Linked DNA regions of Homo sapiens: region 2 is linked to region 1. The links are contacts of gene promoters, found by promoter capture Hi-C in blood cells and fetal thymus (Javierre and others, 2016). All regions are on one chromosome and are shown on one strand. The core of a region is centred on a gene start or on the middle of the fragment in contact, and the rest is flanking DNA. Distances in the headings are between cores, read along the strand shown.

Region 1 (7,846 bases), core at 1-2,500:
GATACTATATAACACTTAAGGCACGAGTAATTTTTTTTTCACCGTTTCCCCTCCATGGCTATGAAGGAACTGGGAGAAGGATGCTCCTTTCATTAATTAAAATTCTTCACTTTGAAAATTTAAGTTTATTAGGGAAGGAAGGAAGAAAAATATGAAGATGTAAGTATACATACCTTGGAGTAAGTATTTCCTTATATTGGAGTTTCTCTAATTTAGCTGGGGCTACTAATGACATGGGAATCACAATGTTATCTATGTCATAAGAGCTCTCACTTCTCAATCTCCGTCGTGCAGTATTCTGCAAAACAGGATTACAGTAGATTTACAGTACTGTCTAGTTACTTGTAATGATACCCTCCTTTCATCAGTTATGTAAATATGGCAGTACACGTTACATAATTTTTGTAAATACATTGTTATAAAGTCTGACTAAAAAATGTTAAGAAAACCAAAAAATAAAACATTTTTCTATCTTTTGTAAATCAGAACAATCTCTTGGTAGATGTGTAATGTGTATTTATGTGTGCAAGCATACAAGCTTATTTTTAAGACCACAAAAAATAGGTCTTAAATGCAAAACTCTTTATCAGAAAAGACCAACATACATCACCCTAAATGTCAATGAAAATGATCAGTAACCACTTTTTATTAGGAAAGGCAGTGAAACATTTTTGGTCAGCCCTTCAGTATACTCTTCATTTATGCATTCCTGGTTCCTGAGTTTCGGAATTCATTTCTAAACCCTCCCACCTTTTGACCTCTCTATTCCCTGGCCAGATAACAAAAAAACAAACAAACAAACAAAAAACAGGACAAGAACAAGAAAGTCCTGAATTCTCATTAGTAAGACTTTATTTAGCTTAATATGTTAAGGAATAGAGATGATCATGATAATGTTTAAATTTTTAACACATAAAAAGAAGCTATAACCAAATATTAATGAACTTTTAGCTTCATAGTTAAAAATAAGTTGTATGAATCAAATATATTGTTTTCTAACAAGATAGTTATAAATGTCTGTTAATATGTGCTAGTAAGGCTGTTATAGATTAGCAAAATATAAATTATTTTCAAAATCAGGTGTTTTTATTTTTAAAGCTATTTTAGAGTTCAACATATGGAAAAACCTACTCGTGATGAATTCTGGATTCTTGATAAAACGTTGACATTGGAAACAGCAGTAAAATTGCTATGGGATCCTGATTCTGTGTGTTGAAAATCAGATTCTTCAAGTTTAGTTCTTTCTCCTGCCATGGAAAGAACCATTGAATGTTACACATTAAACAAGTCTAATATCATTAGAATTACTTTCCTAATTAGATGACAGGTGATTGATTCCTTGTTTTGTGTGTGTGTGTTTAAATTCGTGTATTAGAAAACAAAAAAGGAAATGAAAAAAGAGGAGCCTTACTTGCAGTCATGCCACAAGTTATTTCCATTTTCTGGGGCTTTGGCAGTTTTTATCGAATATATTTCTTATTGTTCCCTGAATAATCCCTCATCTCATCCCTTTATTCTTGTTTCCTGTGACTCCTATTCATAGTTGAACCACCAGAACTATCTTAATTTTCTTATCTAATCTCATTTTTCATATCTGACTTTTTATCCTAATTTATGTGAGGTATCTGTCCTTGGTCTTCTGAACACTCTTAATTTTTTGAAAAAATTCTGCTATTATAAGTACATGTTTCCGAAAGTACTTGTTCTCTGGTACTCTTTTTTTAAAACAGCATCCTGTTCTTGTTTCATAGATGAAATTTCTCATATCTCTCAGGATATTGATTAGAAGTTTACTTCTGTTAGTATTTTCTGTATATCTTCCAAGTTCTTTTTTTTTTTTTTTCCTGTTTTGGTTCCCAGTTACTGTGTGTGTGTGTGTGTGTAGTAAATATATATATGTATGCGTTTACTTACTGCCCTTATTTTAGTACAAGTGTTTTAAAATGAGAATATTTCCTGCATAATATAAAATCTAATACCCAGTCCATATTTAAATATCTCCATTTGTTAAAAAAAAGTCCTTTATAGCTAGTTTCTTCAGATAAGGATCTATATATAAAAATTGGCCATTGTCTCCTAGGTTTCTTATAGTCTAGAATAAATCATTTTTCATTACATTGACTTTTGACAGGCTGGACCAGATGTCCTACCCTTTTGGAATTGTCTAGTTATTTATTTGTAGTATGACATTTCTTTATTTTATTCCTGTATGTACATCAAACTTGAAGTTAGATCTAAAGTGTCAGTCAATTTAAGTGAAACATTTTATATCTTAGGTAATGTATACTTCATGTTGCATCTTATTAGATGTTTTTAAAGCTTTATATATATATATAAGTTGAATCTTGTTGACTTTCTCAAAATCCTGAGGAATCTGCAGTGCATCAACATCTCCACAGTAGGTACCATAAATGGTTAACAGTTTCTGTAAGGCAACTTTGCACTAGCCTATTTTGAGCATAGAACACAACTTTGAAGATTAAATCCCATCCAGGGACTGATTGGTAGAAGACAACTAGTCAGGGAACATAGGAGGGAAATACTTAATTGCCATAAAGTGGGTAGATACCAGTCCACAAATAATTCTAAATTAACTACGAATATGCTGTTTCATGTTTGTAGACTCATAGATGTTTTGTGTTATTAGTGGCTGTTCTGGATTATAAACTCCCATGAGAGGTTATTTTAAAATCAGAATTTTTAATTTTTAATATTTATCACTACTGCTTATATCCTCACTTTAACCTACCTAATGCTGTTTCACTCAAATGTCTTTTCTTTCTTCCCTGTAACAGTTGTGCAGAAGATTCTGACCTTATTTGAGGCTTACATATAGGTGAATATCCATTTCTCCATTGATTCAGAGTACTATGTACTAAAACAAATGAAAAGGAAATATTAAGTTTTAGTTCCTTAACACAGACAGTGAACATGTCAATCTGTTTTTATTTGTAACTGCAGAATTTTAAGATACCAGTTCAAAATTACAGATAAACATAAATACCAAGACACACAACTCCAACTAAAAACATCCCCAGGAATTTCCAGTTTCTTATATTTTCTCCATTTTTTTGAGGGGGATGAAAAGGGAAGATGATCTGTTCTCAAAGTCTTCCAAATTACAGAAACTTGATAGAGTGAGGATTGGCTCAGATATATAAATCTTGGCGATCAGAATCTTTAAGTTCTTGCTTACCTTTAAATCTGGAAATAAGTTGGGACCAAGTAAGATTCAACATGGTCAGACTAGACTGTGCGAGCAAGAACCAGAATCATTTAATATCTCTGATGCCTTAGTTGCATCATCTGTAAAATAGGGATAATAGCAGCGACCTTGGATAATGATTACATGAGTTTATTCCTGTAGTAGTAAGTAAAAGTGTCTGATGTGATAAGTGTGCAGTAAATGTTAGCGTTATCATGATTGTATATCTGAACCCCCTTATTTCCAGCCTTGGTCTAACAACCAAATTGGCTTCTTTTTTTGAAAGGTTTGGAGATGTGGAAAGGAGTGGAAAAAGAAATATGTAAGCTGAAGTGCCAAACTCACACTGAAATAAAGGGCATGGCCTACCAGCTGACAAGGAGTGTCTGGTTTCAAGATGGCAAATGACCCTAAACATGATAGACAAATACGTTTTACATAGGTACATGCACAGATAGGCACATATAAATCCACATTTGCAAGCAAAAAGTGGAACCTGTAAAGCAGAATTTCTGAGGAATCTCTAAAAGACTAATACTATATGGAATTTGAAGAGGAAACCCAGAGCAGAAGCACATAGTGAAGTACTGCCACAAAGATGTGTGACGCCACTAAAGGTGCTCTAGACCCACAAGAAAGGAAAACTGGGAGCAGGACAACTATCTGGATATTGACTGCACATGCCAATATCTCAGTCAGACTAACAGAATCAGAGCTTTAGGCAGAGAAATGAATGGTTGGAGAGAGAAGGCAATGCCCAGGTGCCCTGCTTTGAAATGTCCCGCCCATCCCCAAATTAGTCTGAAAATTTCAAATGTTGTATAAATTCCCTTCCCATCAAAAGTGTCCCATAAACAGCAGTGGTAGAAGAGTTTTAACTGAGTATCACAGCTTCAATGATGAGTATAGAAAACTCCAAAAATCTGAATACCAACACAATCAAAAAAGAGGTACAAACCACAAGTGGAAGAACCATCTCAAGAAATAATGAAGCATTCATGGAATACAGATTAGCAACTCTTTAAAACAGTATTGCCAAGAGAAACAGGTAAGAGGCCCTCTGGAGAAATGTCAGAAATAGAAAATGTAATTGTTCAAATGTTAAAATCATCACTAGGCTAAGAAACAGAATGGACACAGCTGAAAATCAAAATCAGGGTCTGGAAGAGGAATTCCATAACTTGATGGAACAGAGTGATAGAAAATATGGAGGGAAAAAGACCGCAATGGGGTAACAAGATGAGACTAGAAAGAGTGAAAAGGAGGGAATAGTTGAAGAAGTGATAGCTGAAGTGTTTTCCAGAATCAATATTAAACCCTAAGATTTCAACGATGCACTTGCATGTCAAACAGCAAATGAAAAATCATAAATGCATCACAGATGATAATACCCTGAAAGTTATTAATACAAGAAAACAGCATGGCAGGAGTAATCTAAACGTACTAAAATGGTAACTAGAATTGTGAGAGGTGGATTTTAAAATGTATGTGTGTGTTAAAACGTGTGTAGGTGTTAAAAGTGTCCATTCTTTTAATAACATTTTGCTGTAGCATTTAAGCAAATCATAGACAATTAACGTTTCTCTTATTTTCTACAAGCAATTCTCCACTCTTCTGAAAACATCAAATTTTGTGAAGGAATCAACTTTCACAAAAGTTGATTTTTTTTTTGAGACGGAGTCTCGCTCTGTCTCCCAGGCTGGAGTGCAGTGGCGCGATCTCGGCTCACTGCAAACTCCGCCTCCCGGGTTCACGCCATTCTCCTGCCTCAGCCTCCCGAGTAGCTGGGACTACAGGTGGCTGCCACCACGCCCGGCTATTTTTTTTTTTTTTTTGTATTTTTAGTAGAGACGGGGTTTCACCGTGTTATCCAGGATGGTCTCGATCTCCTCACCTCGTGATCCGCCCGCCTCAGCCTCCCAAAGTGCTGGGATTACAGGCGTGAGCCACCGCGCCCGGCCAAAAGTTGATTTTTAAATTAAATTTTATTCAAATGTTTTTTTCACATTTATTTTCCTTCTAATTCGTTACTGTCTTGTAAGGTTTTCATGGACCCTTGAAACCGTAGGAAATGTATGACAATTCTACACATCCTCTTCACCTGTTCTATTGATAAACCTCCCAGCCTTTCAGTTCTTGCTCTCCCAATCCTCTCCTAGAGTTCATCCTAAGATCACACTTTCATAGCATTTCTCATATATCCTGTCTTTACTTCCTTCCCTTTTATTCATCCAACAACAACTTTACAGAGAACCAATTACATGGCAAGCATTATTCTAAACCCTAGGTAAGCAAAACTAGGATTTGTAGCAGCCCTTGTCGTTTACAGGTGTTAAGGAATGCAATTGTAATGTGATAGGAAAATATTCATTTCAGTTGTGAAACTACATGATGTTACTGAGAATGTATAAGAGTGCTAGTAAGAGCTCTAGGAAAGGCTTCCCCAGATGAAGTGACAGACTCCAAATATGAACAGAAATAGCTGATAGCTAGGGGAAGGAGGAGAATAGCATGTACAATGGCCCAAGGGAACAGGACAAATTTGGGAACTGAACAGCTATGTACTGTAGAGTAAGGAAGCATGGTGAGAAAGAATCATGAGGGAGGAGCCAGCCTATGTAGATAGGGCTTTAAGGTGTTAAGAATATTCCTTCTCGAATGATTTAAAGGGATGGGGTGGGGAGCAGGTGTGACATTAGATTTGCATTTTGAGGAGGTCACTGCCTACAGTGATTAAAGGGAAAAATGGATTAAAAGTCTATTTCAGCAGTATAGATAAGAGATCATGTTGGACTGTGAGAGTAGTCGAAGGCACAAAAGGAACTCAAACACATAAGATCATATTGACAACTTGGCAATTGGTTTAGACCAAGTTGGAGGAAGTGTGGGTGACAAAGACTGAGCTCTATGTTTCTGGCTTGCTTGTGTGGGTTATGGTGCTATTGTTCCTCCTCTTCCATCTATCTGAGACCTAATTTCAGAATTACAGAAAACTTGAAATAGAACAAAAAATTTCTGTATACCCTTTTCTGAAATCCCCCAAATGTTAACATCGTATCACATTTGCTTTACCTCCTTCTTTCAGACCACAAATGAAATTTAGTTGCTGACATGATGCCCCTTTAGCCCTAAATACATCAATGTGTATTTCTCAAAACAAAGGACATTCTCTTATGTAGCCATGCAGTTCAGTACCATTAGCTAATCTATAGACCTTATTCAGATTTCACCAATATCTCTATAATGTTATTTACAGATAATTTCAACTATTCATTGCAGATGGCATTGCAGTTGTCAGATCTCATTAAGGTCTTATATCTGAAACAGTTCCACTGTCTTCCATAACTTTCATAACTTTGAACATTTTGGTAAGTATAAACCCTTAAATTGGTTTTGTCTGGTATTCCTCATGATTAAACTAGTCATCCATTCACTTTTCAACCCACTACAGTTTGGCTTTTCTCTGCTTGTTGCCTGAAATCAGCAATGCCATTGTAAACTGCCAAATCTAATGGACCATACAGGATAAATCCAAGCAAAGATCTGTCTACTGCCTTCACACAACTTACCCTACAGGAATGCCAAGTTATTTGTAGATATTTGTTGTTGTTTGTTTGTTTTGAGATGAAGTCTCACTCTGTTACCCAGGCTGGAGTGCAGTGGCGCCATTTCGGCTCACTACACGTCTGCCTCCTGGGTTCAAGTGATTCTTGTGCCTCAGCCTCCCGAGTAGCTGGGACCACAGGTGTGCACCACCACCCTCAGCTAGCCTTTGTATTTTTAGTACAGACGGGGTTTCACCATGTTGCCAAGGCTGGTCTTAAACTCCTGACCTCAGGTGATCCACCTGCCTCAGCCTCCCAAAGTGGTAGGATTACAGGCGTGAGCCACTGTGCCTGGCCTTATTTATAGATATTTGAATATATCATACTGTGTCATGTCTCCATGACAAGACATATGTTTGTTTTTGTTATTTAAAGACTTGTTACTCAGTATGGGCCAACAGCATCTGAATCACCTGGGACCTTGTTAGAAATGCAGAATTTCAGGTCCCATTCCAGACTTACTAAATCAGACTCTGCATTCTAACAATATCCCCGAAGTAACTTGCTTACATTTTAAAGTTTGAGAAGCACTAATCTGGAACGCTCCACCCTTCTTTCTCTGTAAATTCCAATTAAGTAGTCGAAGCTGCACTTAGGCATCACCAACTTTCTGGAGTTCCTCTCCTTGCCCATTTCTCATCTCCCTGAACCTCTCTTTTTCTGCCTTCTAAGTAGTTACATACTCCTTATTTATATCTTCTTTATATAATTTCTTTTTAAGATAGAGTCTCACTCTGTCACCCAAGCTGGAGTGCAGTGATGCGATCATTGCTCATTGCAGCCTCAAGCTCCTGGGCTCAAGCAATCCTCCTGCTTCAGCCTCCTAAGTCCCTGGGACTACAGGCATGCACCACCATGCCTGCCTAATTTTTATATTTTTTGTAGAGACAGGGTTTTACCATGTTGCCCAGGCTGGTCTTGAACTCCTGGGCTCAAGCGATCCCCCTACCTCAGCCTCCCAAAGTGCTGGGATTACAAGCATGAGCCACCACACTCAGCCTTCAAAGGTATTTATCATCTATGTCCATTATACTAT
Region 2 (7,846 bases), core at 2,935-5,434, 56 kb after region 1:
TAAATCTGACTCTTTGGTTTACAAAGTTAGGGTTTTTTGTTTTTCAGAGAGAATCTCATTCTGTCTCCCAGGCTGGAGTGCATCTGGTATGAACACAGCTCACAGCAGTGTCAACCTTCTTGGCTCAAGTGATGCTCCTGCCTCAGGCCTCTGAGTAGCTGGGACTACAGGTGCATGCCACCATGCCTGGCTAATTTTTTATGTTCCATACAGACAGAGTCTCGTCAAATTTCTTGGATGGTTTGGAACTCCTGGGCTCAAGCGATCCTTCCGTCTCAGCCTCCCAAAGTGCATATTCCATTTTGATGAAATACTGTAATGCTGATAATTTGTAAGGATGCATTTACCATCCAATCAGAAAGATTACAACATGATAGATGACTGCTTTGGAAAATGCTGCTACTTAATGATATGTGATAAAAATGCTTTTAGACATTTGGAATCTAAGACATGTACTAAACTACATTCAGCACTCGATGTCAAGCACAGGAAAAGAAAATTCAAAGATCTTCAGCATAGGAGTGTGAAAGATCCATATCCTTAAGATATCCTCAAAAGCCAGGAATTACTCATAGTAAGAAGGTCATAATTAAAAATTTCCCTTGTATACCAGGACAATGATTAACTGAAGAGCTATACTTTATGGAAAAATAGACGAATACCAGCACATGCTAAACTAATGGCCTCCATCTTTTCATATTACCACTTCATGGTGCATATGTCCTGCCCTTTGCTTCAAAATACACTATGGAGCCAAGGAAACTAAGTTCAAGGAATAGCAGCAAATAGGGACTTATTCAACATACAATTTAAAACTATTGTTTTAAGTCAGTGGTTTCTAACATTTCCCCCACATTCACACCATTCTCAAATTAAACTACTTAAGTAAAAGTAGAAATAAACTCTGAAGAAAATTAGAATGTGCATTCTCACAGAGATTATGATAGTTTCCTAGGTGTCCCCCTCCACCCATAAAACTATACACAAATGCCCACACCCACTAAACTGGGTTGAATAGTGTCTCCTCAAAGCTCATGTCTACCCAGAACCTCAGAATGTAACATTATTTGGAAATACTTGGCAAATGTGATTAGTTAAGATGAGGACACACTGGATGAGGATGAGCCCTAAATCAAATCAGTGATTTCCTTACAAGAAGAGACACACAAAGAATGCCATGTAAAGATAGAGGCAGAGTTTGGAGTGATGTGTGTATGTCTTACAAGGAAAGTCAAGGAACTGCAGGCAACCACCAGAAGCTAGGAAGAGGCAAAGAAGGATTCCCTAGAACCTTCACAGGAAGTATGATCTTGACACCTTAATTTTGAACTTCTAGCCTCCAGAACTGTGTAATAAGAAACACCTGTTATTTTAAGCCACAAAATTAGTGGCTTAAAATACAGCGGCCCTAGGAAACTAATATATCCATAAACATATGCACCTAAGAATCATAGTTATTGCATGACTTGTAATCTCTATTTCAAGTTTCTCCTTTTCCAGTTGGAAGTCCTTTGATGAATTCAACCTATTGTAACTAAGGTAGGCAGCAACCTTTTCCATACTTTCCCTACTACACAAAGTCCTGCCAATATCTGAATTTATTACCTCCTTTATCCTTGATAGTACTGGGAGATACGAATGCATCACATATTCAGATAACCCAATGGCATTTAGGATGGCAGTAATCAAATTTGGGTGGATCACGAGGTTAGGAGATCGAGACCATCCTGGCTAACACGGTGAAACCCCGTCTCTACTAAACATACAAAAAAATTAGCCGGGCGAGGTGGTGGGCATCTGTAGTCCCAGCTACTTGGGAGGCTGAGGCAGGAAAATGGCATGAACCCGGGAGGCAGAGCTTGCAGTGAGCCGAGATCATGCCACTGCACTCCAGCCCTGGGCGACAGAGTGAGACTCCATCTCAAAAAAAAAAAAAAAAAAAAGTAAGAAACTAATAAAAAATAAGACTTAAACTTAATAGGAGGATTATTTATCCTCCAATTGGCAAAAGTAAATACCTCTCTCAAATGATCAAATAGATCAAGATCTGGCATTGCCTGGTATAGAGAAAACAGTTCCTAGACCATTTCCCTTACTCTGGGTAATAAGTAGAGAAACTACATCTCTTACTCAAAAATGGAAGTCTCTTCAACTCTAACAATAAGAAAATGTGTTGTAGTACACTGTAAAATGACATTCTTTAAAAATAAGATGTAGTATCTAAAAAAATTAAGGCTGGGCGCAGTGGCTCATGCCTGTAATCCCAGCACTTTGGGAGGCCGACACAAGCAGATTGCCTGAGGTCAGGAGTTCGAGACCAGCCTGGCCAGCATGGTGAAACCCCGTCTCTACTAAAAATACAAAAATTTGCCAGGTGTGATGGCGGGCACCTGTAATCCTAGCTGTTCAGGAGGCTGAAGCAGGAAAATCGCTTGAACCCAGGAAATGGAGGTTGCAGTGAGCCGAGATCGCACCACTGCACTCCAGTCTGGGCAACAAGAGCGAGACTCCGTCTTAGAAAGAAAAATTAAGATCCATCTTACTGTAGGTACTGAAGTGGGAAATAACTATTTTAAGTATAAAAAGCTTCAGATATAATATTAACTGAAAAAGATATAAAATTACTTCTAATAGATCTAAACTATGAAAAGACTATATTAAAAAGATGGCAAGAAAATATACTCTGAGCAATATAGTGATTTCTTTTTTTTTTCTCTCTCTTTTTTGAGACACAGTCTCACTTTGTCGCCAGGCTGGAGTGCATTGGCACGATCTCGGCTCACTGCAACCTCCGGCTCCCAGGATCAAGCAATTCTCCTGCCTCAGCCTCCCAAGTAGCTGGGACTACAGGTATGTGCCACCACGCCGAGGTAATTTTTGTTTTTAGTAGAGATGGGGTTTCACCATGTTGGCCAGGATGGTCTCGATCTCTTGACCTCATGATCCACCCGCCTCGGCCTCCCAAAGTGCTGGGATTACAGGCATAAGCCACCATGCCCAGCCTTTTTTTTTCTCTTTTATTAGGATGTCTAATACATTTTGAAATGGCTATTGAAAATAAAAGAGACTTAGGAGACATAATAACCAAATGTAATTTATGGACTTCGGATACAGGTTTTAACAAATTAATCATAAAAAGATAATTTTGAGACAAGCAGAAATTTGAATATGGATAGAGAATTTCAAGACTAACAAATTATGGTTAACAGTATTAAATGTGATAATAAAGTGGTAGGTATGTTAAAAGGCTTATCAATGAAATATAAAGAACTATTTATAGTTAAAATAACAATCACTAGAAACTGCTTTACAAATGCCTAGAAAAAGAAAGTGTGTCAGGAAAAGGAATAACAAAAGAATTAGCAAAATTTTGAAAACTGTTAAAGCTGAGAATATGTGGGTTCACTTTACTATGCTTTCTATATGTCTGAAGTTTTCCACAATAAGAGTAGATGGGGGAAAATACCAATTATTACAGAACTATCTGTCATTCTTATCTCTGGCTCTTAACTTAAAGTGGGACTTTTTAACACATAAAGGCAAAGAGACGAGGAAACCAATATGATAGCCATACTTTTCTACCTGATAATTGAGACATAAAGTTTGTCAAATATTTGTCTGATCTGAGGCACTTACAGATAATTTCTATTTTATATTTTAAGGAAAACAAAAATACAAAAAAACTTGAATAAAAGCTGAAATATTTTTCAAAATCCCATCTTCTCAACAGAAATATAGTTTTCATTTATACCCTTCACATCTTTTTTCTATAAAATCATACTGTACTATAATTTTAGTGTCCGCATTTTTCCACTTAATATTTCAATATAAGCATGTTTCCATATGATTATATATTTTCTACATACATAATTTTGTATAGTTACATGATATTAGATCTAGTGGTTGTACCACAATTTATTAATATATTCACTTATATAATATTAGGTTTTAGGCTTATATTAGAGTTATAAAGGAAAAAGTAAACTATGTATATATTTATTGTAATTAAATATTTATTAATAATTATTATATATAATATTGTCATTCACAGGAATCCAAAATTATACTGAAAACATCAACTTAGAATATGCTTCTAACAAACAATGTTTTCTCATAATTGAGAAGTGACTATTGAAAATATTGAGGGTAAAAAATTTACTTTTTATGTGATTAGTTTGCCAGCCTAACTGCAGTTTTTCAATTATGATATCCAATTAAGAAAGGATAGTTGCATGTCACATGAGATAATTATCATTAGTAGAAATAAATAGCATGGCAATAATTCATCGGAATTTAATTTCATGTCATATTCTGGGACTCATTAAAGCAAAAACAAAACAAACAATGACAAAAATCTAGACACTATTTCAAGTAGGAATTCACTTTCTCAAAGATAATACCCCATGGGATAAACAAGGATTAATTTATAACATTTTATCTTCATTTTAGAGTATGAGATCTGAAAACCAAAAACTATCCCTATGATAATAAAATGTAATGCTTCATTTGTTTGAAGACTCAATCTTCTTAGTTGCACAGTTCCTGGTGAGTCATCTGAGACCATACTGCCAAGATTAATAAAGCTAAAAAAAAAAAAAACTCTTGACACTTTTCTAGGCGATATTGTTATTAAATAAAAGATAGGAGTTAGTAATCAATAAATAGCAAGTGTGCAAACATGCCCTGGGAAATAATTAACCAGGTAAGTTTACTTTAAATGCACTGTGAGGACAGATCATTACCATTAATACTTAAAATTATGAAGAATTCATATTTAAGTATGAGTTAATACTTAAATACTTAAGAGAATTATATCAAACAAAAGTTCTATATGATCCACAAAAATTAGTATATAGAATGAGGCTAACCTTTAAAAATTAAAAATTTAAATTTCTTCTAACCTAATTATATACAAGAATTATGATATAATGTGATATAAAGCTATAATAAGCATGCTTTATTAGAAGAACTGTAACATTTCATTTATGAGTTTCCTTATCTGGCAACATCAACTATATATATAGAATGTAGCTGAAATGTTTAAAAGGCCTTTAAATAACAAAAAGAGATCTCAGTAAGTTTATGCATGAAAGTTCACTCCTGTTCCTTTTTTTATTTTTTATTTTATTTTTTTTTTTTTGAGACAGGATCTTGCTCTGTCACCTAGGCTGGAGTGCAGTGGCATGGTCACGGCTCACTGCAGCCCTGACCTCCTGGGACCAAGCAATCCTCCCACCTCAGCGTCCCAAGCAGCTGAGACCACATGCATCAACACATCTGGCTCACTTTTTTAATTTTTGTAGACATGGAGTCTTCCTATGTTGCCCAAGCTGGATTTGAACTGCTGGTGATCCTCCTGCATCAGCCTCTCAAATTATTGGAATTAACAGGCATGAGCCATCATGCCTGGCCATCCTCTTGTTGCTTTTAAGAGAGGCCTTCTCTCTTACAGATTTTTTTAAATATCTCTTATTACAGAGACATCTATGTCATCTATCACATTGGTTATCTGATTTTCTAGTCCAGAGTCAAATTAGGAAGAGAAGCAGAACTGCAGGAGACAGCCACGAAAGCAACAAATAGAATATCAATCTGACTATAGGGAAGAAAAAATACGTTAAGTACAAAATATTCCTTATGAATGCTGAGTATGGGCAAGAAATCATGAACAACATTTCATTCATTCAACAAATATTAATTCATGCCCATGATGTGACTCTCTGATCCAAGTACTAAGGAAAACAACAGTTCAGTAAGATAGACCAAAAAATTCTTACTCTCCTGAAGCTTATGTTCAAGTCCAGGAAGACAGATAATAAGCACGTAAAAAATTAACAAAATAACATCACATTTGTTACCTCATTTGATCTTCACAACACAACCCAGAAAACAGGCTGTTCTCATTCTATCTAATTCAGATTGCCGTGCAGGATCAATACTACCAATTGGTCAATTTGGGATTGAACCGTGATCTAATTCCAAAGTAATATTCTTAACAATAAAAATTTTCTTCATAGCACTTGATCAAGGTTTAAAATTATACATTTGTGTGATCATTTAGGTGGTGTCATTTTTTTTTCACAACTAGACTTTATATCACAAAGATAGAAATTCCATCTGGTTTTGTTCATTATCATATACCTGGTATCCAATCCAAATGCCTGGCACACAGAAGTCACTCAGTAGGTACTAGTTAATTATTCAGTGAATTGTTTTATAGATATACAGCTATTTATCTCAGTAACCCCTGAGAATGTTATCATGGTGGTGAACCTGAGTTATCAAAAAAATTAAGTTCAGCTCTTTCCCATCTTACAAGATGGCAGGTGAAAAAGTTGAGAAGCCGGATACTAAGGAGAAGAAGCCTGAAGGCAAGAAGGCTGACACTAGTGGCAAGGTGAAAAGGGGTAACTTCAAGGCTAAAAATCCAAAGGCCGAAATCCTGTCAATTGTCAGAAGAATTGGCAGATATGCCTGATCTGCTATGTATTCTAGGAAAGACATGCATAAAAGGAAATACTCACCCAATGAATCCAAGATTGAAAACAGAAAGAGGTTCTTGCAGCCATTAGAAAATCAGTTGGCGGTGACAAGAACAGTGGTACCCAGGTGATTAAACTTCACAAATTGCCTTGATATTATCTTAGGGAAGACGTGCCTTGAAAGCTGTTGAGCCACAGCAAATAACTGCAAGCCAGTTAGCATGTGAGAAAACTGCAAGCCAGCTCCCAGGAGCACTCTGATCATCCTCACTGGCCGCCACAGAGGCAAGAAGGTGATTTTCCTGAAGCAGGTGGGCATTGGCTTGTTACCTGTAACTGGATCTCTGGTCCTCAGTCGAGTTCCTCTACGAGGAACACACCAGAAATCTGCCATCGCCACCTCCACAAAAATTGCTCTCAGCAATATGAAATCCTCAAACATCATACTGATGCTTACTTTAAGAAGCAGCAGCTGTGGAAGCCCAGCCATCAGGAAGGTGGGGTTTTCAACACCAAAAAAGAGACATATGAAATTACAGAGTAGTGTAAGGTTGATCAGGAAGCTGTGGACCTGCAAATGTTACCAACAATCAAAGCTATTCCTCAGTTCCAGGGCTACCTGCAATCTGTGTTTGCCCTGATGAATGGAATTTACCCTCACAAATGGGTGTCCTAAATTTCTTAAGCAGAATCTCATTAAATGACTGATACATTTTGGGGAGAAAATTAAGTTCAATACCACCCAAAGAAGGCAATGTGTAATACATTTTATTTAAACAATTCTTCCCAAACAGTTTAATTGAAAAAGTTTTTGGAACTTAAGTGGAATCCACAATCATCTTACTGTCACGGATACCTCTTTCCATATAGTTTCTAGGGTAGGGTTTGAAGTCACTAAGACACATTGAGTACAGTAATTTCTCTCTATTTACCAGTTCTCTTGATTTAGGCTAACAAAATTATTACATCCAAAAGAGCAAAACAGTGATGTTATAAAGATATACATATTAGGTTGGATTGGAACCCTTATGTTTTTACTGTGTATTTGTTTGAAAAAATAGAATTCCTTAAAATAAATATTTAAAATGGAAGAATATTAACACTAGTAACTACTTTAGAAAATACGTTCCATTAAATTTAAAATAAAGAAGTGAGGTGTAAAGAGATTAACACACCTGCCCAAGTCACAAAATGTCTAAGTAAACAAAATATATAAAAGTTGTGTATTCTCATAACTACTTTGCCCTGAAACCACTAAATTATAAAAACACTACAATTGATTAAAAATAAAAAGTTAAAATCTTTTTGGGGGGAGGGGCATGGGGGAGATTAAATGTCCCAAGATGGTCTTTTGAGGAGATAGA

Evidence for each region. The method cuts DNA at HindIII sites, captures the fragments that hold promoters and counts their contacts. A CHiCAGO score of 5 or more calls a contact.
Region 2: a contact is called between a fragment that was not itself captured here and the fragment with the promoter of KANSL1L-AS1 in region 1, in 1 of 17 cell types (neutrophils). The highest score is 6.4, in neutrophils.

Annotation. Positions count from the first base shown.
Region 1 is chr2:210,028,672-210,036,517 of GRCh38, forward strand. It overlaps KANSL1L-AS1 (KANSL1L antisense RNA 1), which reads left to right and starts at 1,251. Exons shown (of 5, transcript NR_110291.1): 1 at 1,251-1,327; 2 at 2,796-2,836; 3 at 3,492-4,253; 4 at 6,485-6,573. KANSL1L (KAT8 regulatory NSL complex subunit 1 like) reads right to left here. Exons shown (of 15, transcript NM_152519.4): 9 at 2,750-2,875; 10 at 1,132-1,247; 11 at 174-298. The HindIII fragment of the contact is 1,781 bases long and covers 537-2,317 here.
Region 2 is chr2:210,081,907-210,089,752 of GRCh38, forward strand. All of the region lies in intron 5 of KANSL1L (KAT8 regulatory NSL complex subunit 1 like), which reads right to left. It also overlaps the pseudogene RPL6P6. Among named protein-coding and RNA genes, the nearest start is that of KANSL1L-AS1, 56 kb to the left of the region's middle. The HindIII fragment of the contact is 3,201 bases long and covers 2,585-5,785 here.